Linked DNA regions of Homo sapiens: all the other regions are linked to region 2. The links are contacts of gene promoters, found by promoter capture Hi-C in blood cells and fetal thymus (Javierre and others, 2016). All regions are on one chromosome and are shown on one strand. Each heading gives the region's core, a stretch centred on a gene start or on the middle of the fragment in contact. The rest is flanking DNA. Distances are from core to core; before and after follow the strand shown.

Evidence for each region. Contacts are between HindIII fragments. The CHiCAGO score rates a contact against its expected background, and 5 or more counts as called.
Region 1: a contact is called between a fragment that was not itself captured here and the fragment with the promoter of CLDN24 in region 2, in 1 of 17 cell types (M1 macrophages). The highest score is 5.4, in M1 macrophages.
Region 3: a fragment that was not itself captured here is called in contact with the fragment with the promoter of CLDN24 in region 2 in 1 of 17 cell types (endothelial precursors); the score reaches 5.3 in endothelial precursors.

Annotation. Positions count from the first base shown.
Region 1 is chr4:182,930,587-182,933,735 of GRCh38, reverse strand. No RefSeq gene overlaps it. Among named protein-coding and RNA genes, the nearest start is that of DCTD, 15 kb to the right of the region's middle. The HindIII fragment of the contact is 939 bases long and covers 864-1,802 here.
Region 2 is chr4:183,320,739-183,323,933 of GRCh38, reverse strand. CLDN24 (claudin 24) reads left to right here and starts at 1,508. Exons shown (of 1, transcript NM_001185149.1): 1 at 1,508-2,170. The coding sequence starts at 1,508. The coding sequence ends at 2,170. WWC2 (WW and C2 domain containing 2) reads right to left here. Exons shown (of 23, transcript NM_024949.6): 23 at 3,157-3,195. The HindIII fragment of the contact is 2,424 bases long and covers 1-2,387 here.
Region 3 is chr4:182,910,021-182,913,231 of GRCh38, reverse strand. The region is part of intron 3 of DCTD (dCMP deaminase); the gene reads left to right. Among named protein-coding and RNA genes, the nearest start is that of DCTD, 5.8 kb to the left of the region's middle. The HindIII fragment of the contact is 1,680 bases long and covers 832-2,511 here.

The DNA of each region.
Region 1 (3,149 bases), core at 84-2,583, 390 kb after region 2:
ACCGAGAATTTTATGTCATAATTAAAGGCGAAATATGGTAGAAATACTTGATCAAGTGACATAGAAGATAAGAGGTCATGGCTGGTATATGTAGTGTTCTGGAGGTGATGCAAGTTTGGGCGAGGCATGTGAATCACGCAGCCTATGGCAGTCATGGAGCAGAGGAAAATGTATTCATTGGCCCTAGGAAGCCCAGGAACTGATTGGCAGGGTGTTGGGTGGGTCATCTAAGTAGCTACTGAAGATGTCAAAAAAGGTGATGAAGGATACCTGAGGGACAGAGGTCGGGTCCGGTTGGGGATATGTTGGTACTGACAGATGCTGTGAGTCTCAAGGGAGAGAGGTGGGAGGTGATGGTCTGGAGTGGCAATAGTCACCTCCACAGATAAGCTTTGGGACAGCCTGGTTTCAGTGAAGGTTAGGAAATGGATCCAGCCTGCAGGAAGAGGCTGAAGCTAGAGGGCAGGGCTTGCTGTTACTTCTGGAGCAGGGATTCCGGGGGCCATAGTGCATGGCACACAGGTAATATGTTTGTTCTGTATTATTAATAATGTTTTCATTGACCGAAAAAGAAATAAGTGCCTGTCAAAGAAAAATTGGGAAATACAGGTAAGTATGGAGAAGACAATAAAAACCATCCATAATCTGACTCTTGGTGACGACAACTTTTAAATGTTTTGTGTTTTTCCTTCCAGTCTTGCCCCTACATATCTGCACACATTGCCCAAATTAACCATGTGTGTAATTGGGTAAGCTAAGATGCAGTATAGGTTAGAGATTGAGTCCATAGGCTCTGGAGTCAAATCGACATAAGTTCAAATCCTGGCTCTGTGATTTATTAGTCGTGTGAACTTAGCCAAGCTTCTTAAATCTCTGACTCGGTTGTTTATAAAATAGAGATAATAAGATAATTCGTTGCGTCATTGGTTAATATGAGGATGAAATGAGACAATGTATATATAGCAACTTACCACAGCATCTGGTACACAGTAAGTTCTCAACACATTTTTCTCTTTATCTTTTTTAAATGAACATTTCCCATATTATTAATAATTCTTAAAGTCCAGGATTCTTCCTATTTACTGAGTATCCATTGTACTGATGTACACTGTGTCTATCCCTTTTTGATGACAGCATAATACAGAAGTCGAGGCAGCCTCCAGAGTCAAAATGCCTGGGTTTGACTCCTGGCTCCGCCACTTATCCCTGTGACTTTGCTGAGTTACTCAACTTCTATAATTTCAATTTTCTGATCTGTGAAATGGGGATAATTATATCCCTACTGAGTTTTTGTAATAATTACCTGATGTAACACATGTGAAGTGCTCAGTAAATCTTAGTGATGTTGATTATGATGATGACGTTTGTGAATATTTATAGTGTTTCTGACATATGCCAGTTTGCATTACTGGGTTTCATAATTTCTAGAAAGTGTGGGTAACTAAAAGTGTAAAGTTTACCAGAAAAAGAGGGGCTCTGGTTGGCCAATAGACAAAATTTACTTCAAGATTCTGAAAGGTGCAAGTAAAATAAACTTGCGTAATAACAACTAATATTTCTTTTTTTAGTAAAACTGTTGAATCAAGAACAAGGCAAACCACTTCAGGAGGCCATGGAATGTGATTATAAAGTAATGAGACAGACTCCACAGCAGCCAGCCTTATAATTTTACAGTCACACCTAGAATGTTTCCTCTCTGCTAGAAATAGGGGGCTTTGGTGAGCCTGATTATGTCACTGATGTCCGCTGATGATGAATAAAAGTACACACAAATCTGTGAATATTCTCTTTGGCTCCAAGCTTTCATACTAGTAATATGACCGAGCATATGTCAACTGGCTTTCTTGTGAACCCTAAACTCATTCTTTTCCCCAGATATAACCTTCTATTTGGTGACTCAAGCACTAATGAATTCAATACAATGTCTGTTATTGTCAGAGAAAATTCCTGGTACATTTTTAGTTATTATCTCAGCTGATGATACGGGTCTGAATTCAAAAATGGAATCCAAATTCTTCTGAAGCTGCACTTTGGGAGGCCGAGGTAGGTGGATCACCTGAGGTCAGAAGTTCGAGACCAGCCTGGCCAACATGGCGAAACCCCGTCTCTACTAAAATATAAAAATTAGCCAGGCCCTGTGGTGGGCGCCTGTAGTCCCAGCTATTCAGGAAGCTGAGGCAGGAGAATCGCTTGAACCTGGGAGGCAGAGGTTGCAGTGAGCCAAGATCACGCCACTGCATTCTAGCCTGGGCAACAGAGCGAGGCTCCGTCTTAAAACAAAAACAAAAACAAAAATTCTTTTGAAGCTGTGTGAGATCTATCTGTTCACTTTATCTCCTGCTCTGTGCATCAAACAATGAACATTGGTTATATTAATATAATACTTTCCCACATAAAAGAAAAATCACTATTTTTTCAAGCAAAATTTTTATATTAAAATTAAAGACCTGGGAGTATCAAAAATATCGGACGGTAGAATCTGGCCAAGAGCAATACAACAAAGATATTTAAAACTGCTGCCTGCTAAATGGGGAGGCGGGGAGGCTGTGCTTCTTTCTCGCCCTTCCTTTGACAGATCTTTTGACGGAAACATCAGTGGAAAGGATTTCTGCTGTGTCTACATGAAGTGAGGAATTGGATTAGATTTTTCACATCCTGTAGACCATGGTGTATAATAATCTAGAGTAATGAAAACATCATTTGTTATGATAGATTACAAGATGACCCTGTAATAGCTAAATTGAGATCAATTACCTTGACTCCAATAAGAGTATGTTTCCACGTGGGAGGAGAGGAAAACAGGAGCAGAGTGTAACTGTGAGGAGAGCAGCTGTTGGTCACAGGGATGGAGCCTCAGAGGTCCAGGGCCCCAGGACCAGCCTCACAGGTGGGTGACTGCCCAACTCTCCTTCATAGAAGAATCCTTTGGAGAGCGGAAATGCCCTCAGGGCAACAGTTACTGCAGTTAGTACATTTTGTTAACTCTCAGATCTAGTTTTGTTTTTTTTTTTTAATTTGTGAGTTTCTTTCTTTTTGCCCTTTTTAAAAAATTTCAGCTCCATATTTCTTAATTTTACCTATTTCTTCTTTGGCTACAACTTGAGGCAGACTTTACTCCCTTTGAACGTGGACTATGGACAACACCTGGC
Region 2 (3,195 bases), core at 259-2,758:
GGTCTCCGGCCCTCTGGATCCAGGTACCTTTAAGCACCCTGGAATGACTTATTTCAGGATGGTGGGGGCACCAATACATCCTCAGGAATTCTGAAAATTTGTAAAAATTAAGGAAGAGTTCATCTGGTGCATAGTTTTTTCTTTTTAAACTTAAGATGATAGGAAAAGCTGAAGAAAGTACCACCTCAAATCTACATCTTATGCAATCTTATCCAAAGTAATTTGGATACATCGGGATCCATGTTCTGTCTCTCCGATCTCCTATTTAGAGACACAATAGAAGATAATTTCTGATCCTGGGCTACACTCCACTGTTGCAACGTGATGGGCAGTGGTTCTACTTCTCCAGGTTAGAACCTCTCAGGGGAGTGGCTCCACCTTTAGGGACTTTTCTGTCCTGTGGGCCCATCTGATTTTATCTCCTCTGAGCAGGTGCAGGATGCCCAGGGGCCATGTGGAGAGGAGACGGTGCAGCCCTGGGAATCTGGGGCAGGTGACCTCTTGTCCTGGCCTGTGAGGCCGGTCCTGTGTTCTCTGAGGGGTCAACCCTCTGCGTAAGTATGCTCTCAAGGTGTGGCCTCAACCAAAAAAATAAACAAGATGAAGCCTCGAAGTTCAGCTCCATTGTGGCTATTGTGTTTGTACCAGAGACTTTTGTCTGGGAGCTGGCAGGAGTCTTGAAGCCTGGTGTTGCTCTGCGTAAGCTGCTGAAATGACAAGGGGACAGCTCAGCTCTGGACAAAAAACACCTCCCTGGACGCTAAGATATCATGCTTTACCCCCAAGTCCTTAACGAGGATGGAGAAAACCACAGAGTGAATGCTGGAACTGCCCGGGACGTTCCCTTCCGCACTCAGTAGCCCCCAGCATCAGCCTCAGTCCTTTTCATTTTAATCAGTCCCGTAAGCCAGCCTCTACCTTTCAAAGGAATCCGAGGAACCTTCCTGCCAACTCTGAGCTCCTGCGACACTCGAGGATGTGGGCCAGGCTCTTGTGTAGGTTAAGGAAGTCTGAGAAGAATAGAGATTATAGGAAACAGTCTACCTTTCTTTACAAGACCTTGTTTTGCATCCCTGAAATTTCAGATTCAGCTCTTACAATGAAGTCCTGTTGTAGAAAGAGCTGGCCTTTTATCACCACTTAAAATCTAATTAATCCATACTGAAGCACAAAGATTTCTGTTGTATTTTAGGGTGAGGGGTCATAGAGCCCTCTTTGTTCATCCTTAGACTTATAATCATCAAGCATTGGGGATATAATTTTACCAAATTGGAAGGTAACAGATCAAGTCCTTATCAGAAAGCCCAACTCATAGTTTTAACAGAGTCCTTCGTCCTTTACGTGAAACATTATATTCAAGAAGAACAAAAACGCATTTCAGAGTGCCCAAAGAGTTAATGACCACAGCTTATATTCCAGGCAGCATAGAACCAAGATTGTCACATTACCGTCAACCACAAAGGACAGCAGATCCTATAGGGGTGGCAAAGTCCTAAGACCTGTCGCAATGGCTTTAATCTTTAGAACAGCAATGCAATCTGTTGGACTTTTACTATCTCTCCTGGGATGGATTTTATCCATTATTACAACTTATTTGCCACACTGGAAGAACCTCAACCTGGACTTAAATGAAATGGAAAACTGGACCATGGGACTCTGGCAAACCTGTGTCATCCAAGAGGAAGTGGGGATGCAATGCAAGGACTTTGACTCCTTCCTGGCTTTGCCTGCTGAACTCAGGGTCTCCAGGATCTTAATGTTTCTGTCAAATGGGCTGGGATTTCTGGGCCTGCTGGTCTCTGGGTTTGGCCTGGACTGTTTGAGAATTGGAGAGAGTCAGAGAGATCTCAAGAGGCGACTGCTCATTCTGGGAGGAATTCTGTCCTGGGCCTCGGGAATCACAGCCCTGGTTCCCGTCTCTTGGGTTGCCCACAAGACGGTTCAGGAGTTCTGGGATGAGAACGTCCCAGACTTTGTCCCCAGGTGGGAGTTTGGGGAGGCCCTGTTTCTGGGCTGGTTTGCTGGACTTTCTCTTCTGCTAGGAGGGTGTCTGCTCAACTGCGCAGCCTGCTCCAGCCACGCTCCCCTAGCTTTGGGCCACTATGCAGTGGCGCAAATGCAAACTCAGTGTCCCTACCTGGAAGATGGGACAGCAGATCCTCAAGTGTAAGACTCCGACAAGGCCAGAGATGTATCCTGTATCAACTGTGATGACAAAGACCTCTTTGTTTTGTAGCTAAACCTGTGATGCTCACGTTTTCTCATTCACTATTTTTCTACAGTAGGTAGACCCACTTCCCTCTAAAATCTGAATAATGAAGGAAAAATCTTTTATCTAAAAGAAAATGATTATGGTAAGCATTATACAGGTAGAAGTGAAACAAGCTTCATTGATCTGGTTATTGAAATTAATGTGGTGGCTGTCCAATACAGTCAGTTTCAAGCTTTAATGTGTAAATTTCATATTAGAAAGCTTTTTTCTGTTTTTCTTTTTTTTGTTGTTGCTGTTGGTAGTCAGAAATGATCTTTAGTTTCTGTTTCCTAAAGAAAAAAACTAACAATCTGAAAATTTTAAGTGTTCTACTTTAGCAAAACCACATGCTAAGCCAACCTCAAAGTGTTATTTCCACAACAATGACCTTTTTCTTCTTTGAACAGAAGTGGTTTGTTTTTAGGATATTACCAGGCACTCAGTGCGGCAAGATTTTATGAGGCTGAAGAGTTTTCAGTACCTTGTGATCCTCTCAGATTTAAAATGGTGGCCAATCTCTTCTCTCATCCTTTCCCTCAAAACCTTCGTATTAAAAAAAGAAAAACAATTCCAAAGACATTTTTCTTGATATCCTGATATTGTCAGGTCATTTGAATAAAACCTTTCCTTTGTTCAATGAAAAATCGCTAACATGGGGATATCTACTTTAGTGGTGAATAAACAGAAATGCTGACTCCAACCTGCAGAGTCCAAATGCTGAACTTTCCTCGGCACAGAAAGCATATATAAGAAAAAAAAGTGTTTATGCACACAAGCGTGAATTTGACAGAAAGGCATGCAGATAAATAAACTAGATCTGTAGTTCAGTATTGCTTCATATGCCATGTGGTATATGTAGCCTGAGGAATTTCTGAAACGCAGGAGTGAGTTAAGGTGTAGAGAGATTTCTGATAAGATTGATTTATTTGGTTAAGAAATACTTT
Region 3 (3,211 bases), core at 422-2,921, 410 kb after region 2:
AGAGCCGGTGGTAGTGGATGACTAATTAGAAAAATGCGCGGACTCAGAAACTGTCACCCTGATTTTGATTCTATAAGCTTTTGATGGTAAGAAAGAAGGGAAGTGATTAGTTGTTTTTAAGTCCATGCAAAGATAATTTTTCACAGTGCGGTTCAAAGTCCCCTATAAAAATGGTGAAAGTGGAGGGTCGATATGTTAAAGGTCTGCATTGAACTGTGTGACGGCCACAGTCAGTATGTCACCGAGTCTGGGCAGTGAAATATTGGCCCTGGGGCTGGACTTTGATATGGAGGAATTCTGGGGGGATGGCGGTCCGTCATACTCAAGCTGGTGCAAAAGATACCCGTGGTTGGACAGTGCGGAGGGGTCCTGGGTGAGCACTGAGTGGGCCTCCCAATGGGGCCTGTGCCTTCTTCAGTCACCCAGAGCCCCCAGCAGATCTTTAAGCAGTGACCTGGAAGCCAAGGGCCATGCAGTACATTTGCAGCACCTGCCCCACACCCCAGACTTCCCAGCTCTCCTGACTTCCCGTGTAGCTGATTTTGTTGGTTATGAGACACTGCCTTTTGTCCAAATTGAGGAGAGTACCTTTCAGAGCCCCTTTCTAGAAGGAATTTTTTTAAAAACCTGCATAGGTATTTGTCCAACTTCACCGATTGTTTTTTATTGAATAGCTCCTGAGCTCCTGGGCACTGGTTGTCTGTCTGCATTATTTTTTATTATCCATATGATACCTCTAGGTTTTCAAAGCTCTTTGCTCTTACTTATCAATTATTCATTTATATGTAGCTGTGTTAGAATGTCGACAGTTTTCTTTCACGAGAGTAAGCTTGTAATTTGATGTACCATAAAAGTTGTAGAAGGTATTAAATGGTTTCTAAAAGGCATTTAGTATTACTGCCGCCATAATACAGTAAAGATGGGCTTAAAGTCTAAATGACGATGACTGTGTATAAACTGTACACTTGTTGTCTTCTCAAGGTTTTTCAGGCCACAGAGAAGTAAATGTTTGGATTGCCTGGGATGTCACAGAAATGTTTGCTGATAATTGACTCAAATGCAAAGTCTTTTTTTTTTTTTTTGCTTTCGTTTTAAGATTTTCAAAATTAATTTAAAAAATAAGGGGATACTGCCTGGAGTTGGATAGCTCAACCCATTCTTTCCTCATCTACATTAATGGTGACTGAGCTGCTGTAGCAGGAAGGGTAAATTCATAGGTTAATCCCTGTAAAGGAGCTTTAGAGATTATCTCGAGTTCTGGACAATGATTTTTAACTCTTTTGAATGTACAGGACCCTCTTTTAAATGCTGAAAAACTTCCAGGACCCCTGCATAATGCTAAATTCTTAGTATCTTTTGAGTAAGAAACTCCACAATGACAAAAACTACTTCGTATCAGTAACATTTTTTGTTAATCTGAACTTTATTAATTGGATAGCATTTATGTATGTTTGGGAAAAGTTTATGTATGTCCTGGACATGGGATTTATCCAGTTGTGGATATGCTTGGACCCCTTGCAATACCTTAGTAGTGTCTCAGGGTTCTATGCCCACAGGATCTAAGCCTCCTCCTTTCTTGTAAGTAACTTCTATAATGTCACACATGCAGGGTGACATCTCCTAATTCCAAGGTCAGTGCTCTTCCTGCTACCTCCCTGTGTCTCTCCTGTGGGGCACATGAATTCAGCTGTACTGAAATGCCAATCATTGTCTCATTTTTTTTTGCAGTTGATCAGACTGAGGCTCCGATAAAATAATTACTCCTCAGAGATCAGGAGCTCGGGGAGGGGTGGCCTGTGTCCGGCATCATGCAGAAAGCCACATGCGTGGCTCACTGTAACATTTCTTCAAAGGGGAGTGCAGTGGACTGAATGTGTCTCCCCCCAAATTCACATGTTGAAACCCTAATTCCAATGTGCTGATATTTGGAGGTGGGGCCTGGGGGGACGTAATTAGGCCATGAGGGTGGAGCTCTCCTGAATGGGATTAGTGCCCTTCTAAAAGGGACCCCAGGGAGCTCAGTTACTCTTTTTCCATGTGCAAGGATAGGCGGAGAAGATGGCTATCTGCAACCCTGAAAGGAGACCTTGCCAGAATCTAACCATGCTGGTGTCCTGACTTCCAGCCTCCAGAACCATGAGAAATAAATGTCCATTGTTTCTCAGCCACCCAGTCTATGGGACTTTGTTATAGCAGCCCCAAGGGACTGTGACAGGGAGCTTGAGAACTGTGTAAATTTGAGTTTACCAAATAACATACAGCTTAATACTGCTTTATTAATTCCGTAAGTCGGAAGTCATTAGTCCTGATTGATGCCTTGTGGGGAGGAGGGAAACACACACTACTTGTAACATAATAGGAAGATGGAGCTTTTCCTGGGCTGTGTCTCTAGAGAGTTATTTTTAAAGGGTGTTTTTGTTCTTCCAGTCTTGGGATCAAAACTTCATAAAACTATTTTATTATAATGTAGTATTAATGTGGAAAATGAAAATTCCCTCTGCTAAAGAAGCTTTTTATTCCATCCTTTTCCTGAAAAATCCAAAAGATAATATGATGTCAGTAACATTAAGTGGCAGGAAGAAGGCAATGTTATTATACTAAGAATCTTTTCAGATGAATGACAATTAAAAAAGAGGAAGCAGCAGATTTATCTAATTTACAAGATTAAAAAACTTGGGAAGATTTTTATTTTCATGAGGGGGTGGGTTGCTAAACCTGTGATGAAGTATTCAGTTGACATTTTTCATTCCTTTTTCTTTGTGGAATTCATTATAGTGAAGCACATTTAATCAAAATACCAATGTTATCAAATGAGGTAAAATACTCTTGGTGATTCAGATATCACTCTTTCCTTGGGTTTTCGTAACCGATTTTGATGATATAGTTTACAAATTAGAGAGTTGGAGAATTAACTTGTTCCCGTTGTTAAACTTAAGGGAATTTTTAGTAATGCTTGCCACATGTATCCAGCTGCCCAGCACTTGTGGCCTTGCTGATTTCTGCTGGCAAAGGGCTCTGGGTTTTGGTGAGTGCCTCTGTGCTTGGCCTCCTATCCCACCCAATGGACCAGGGAGCCAGGGTTGCTTGGCCTGCTGCATCTCACTGCACCAGGGAGGGAACCGTAGCATCTCAGTGTCCCCAAGAGTCGGGGGAGGCCTCACTCTGAGTGCGTTGGGTAGAAGTGGGGCTCTTACCCGAGTCAGTTCCTATG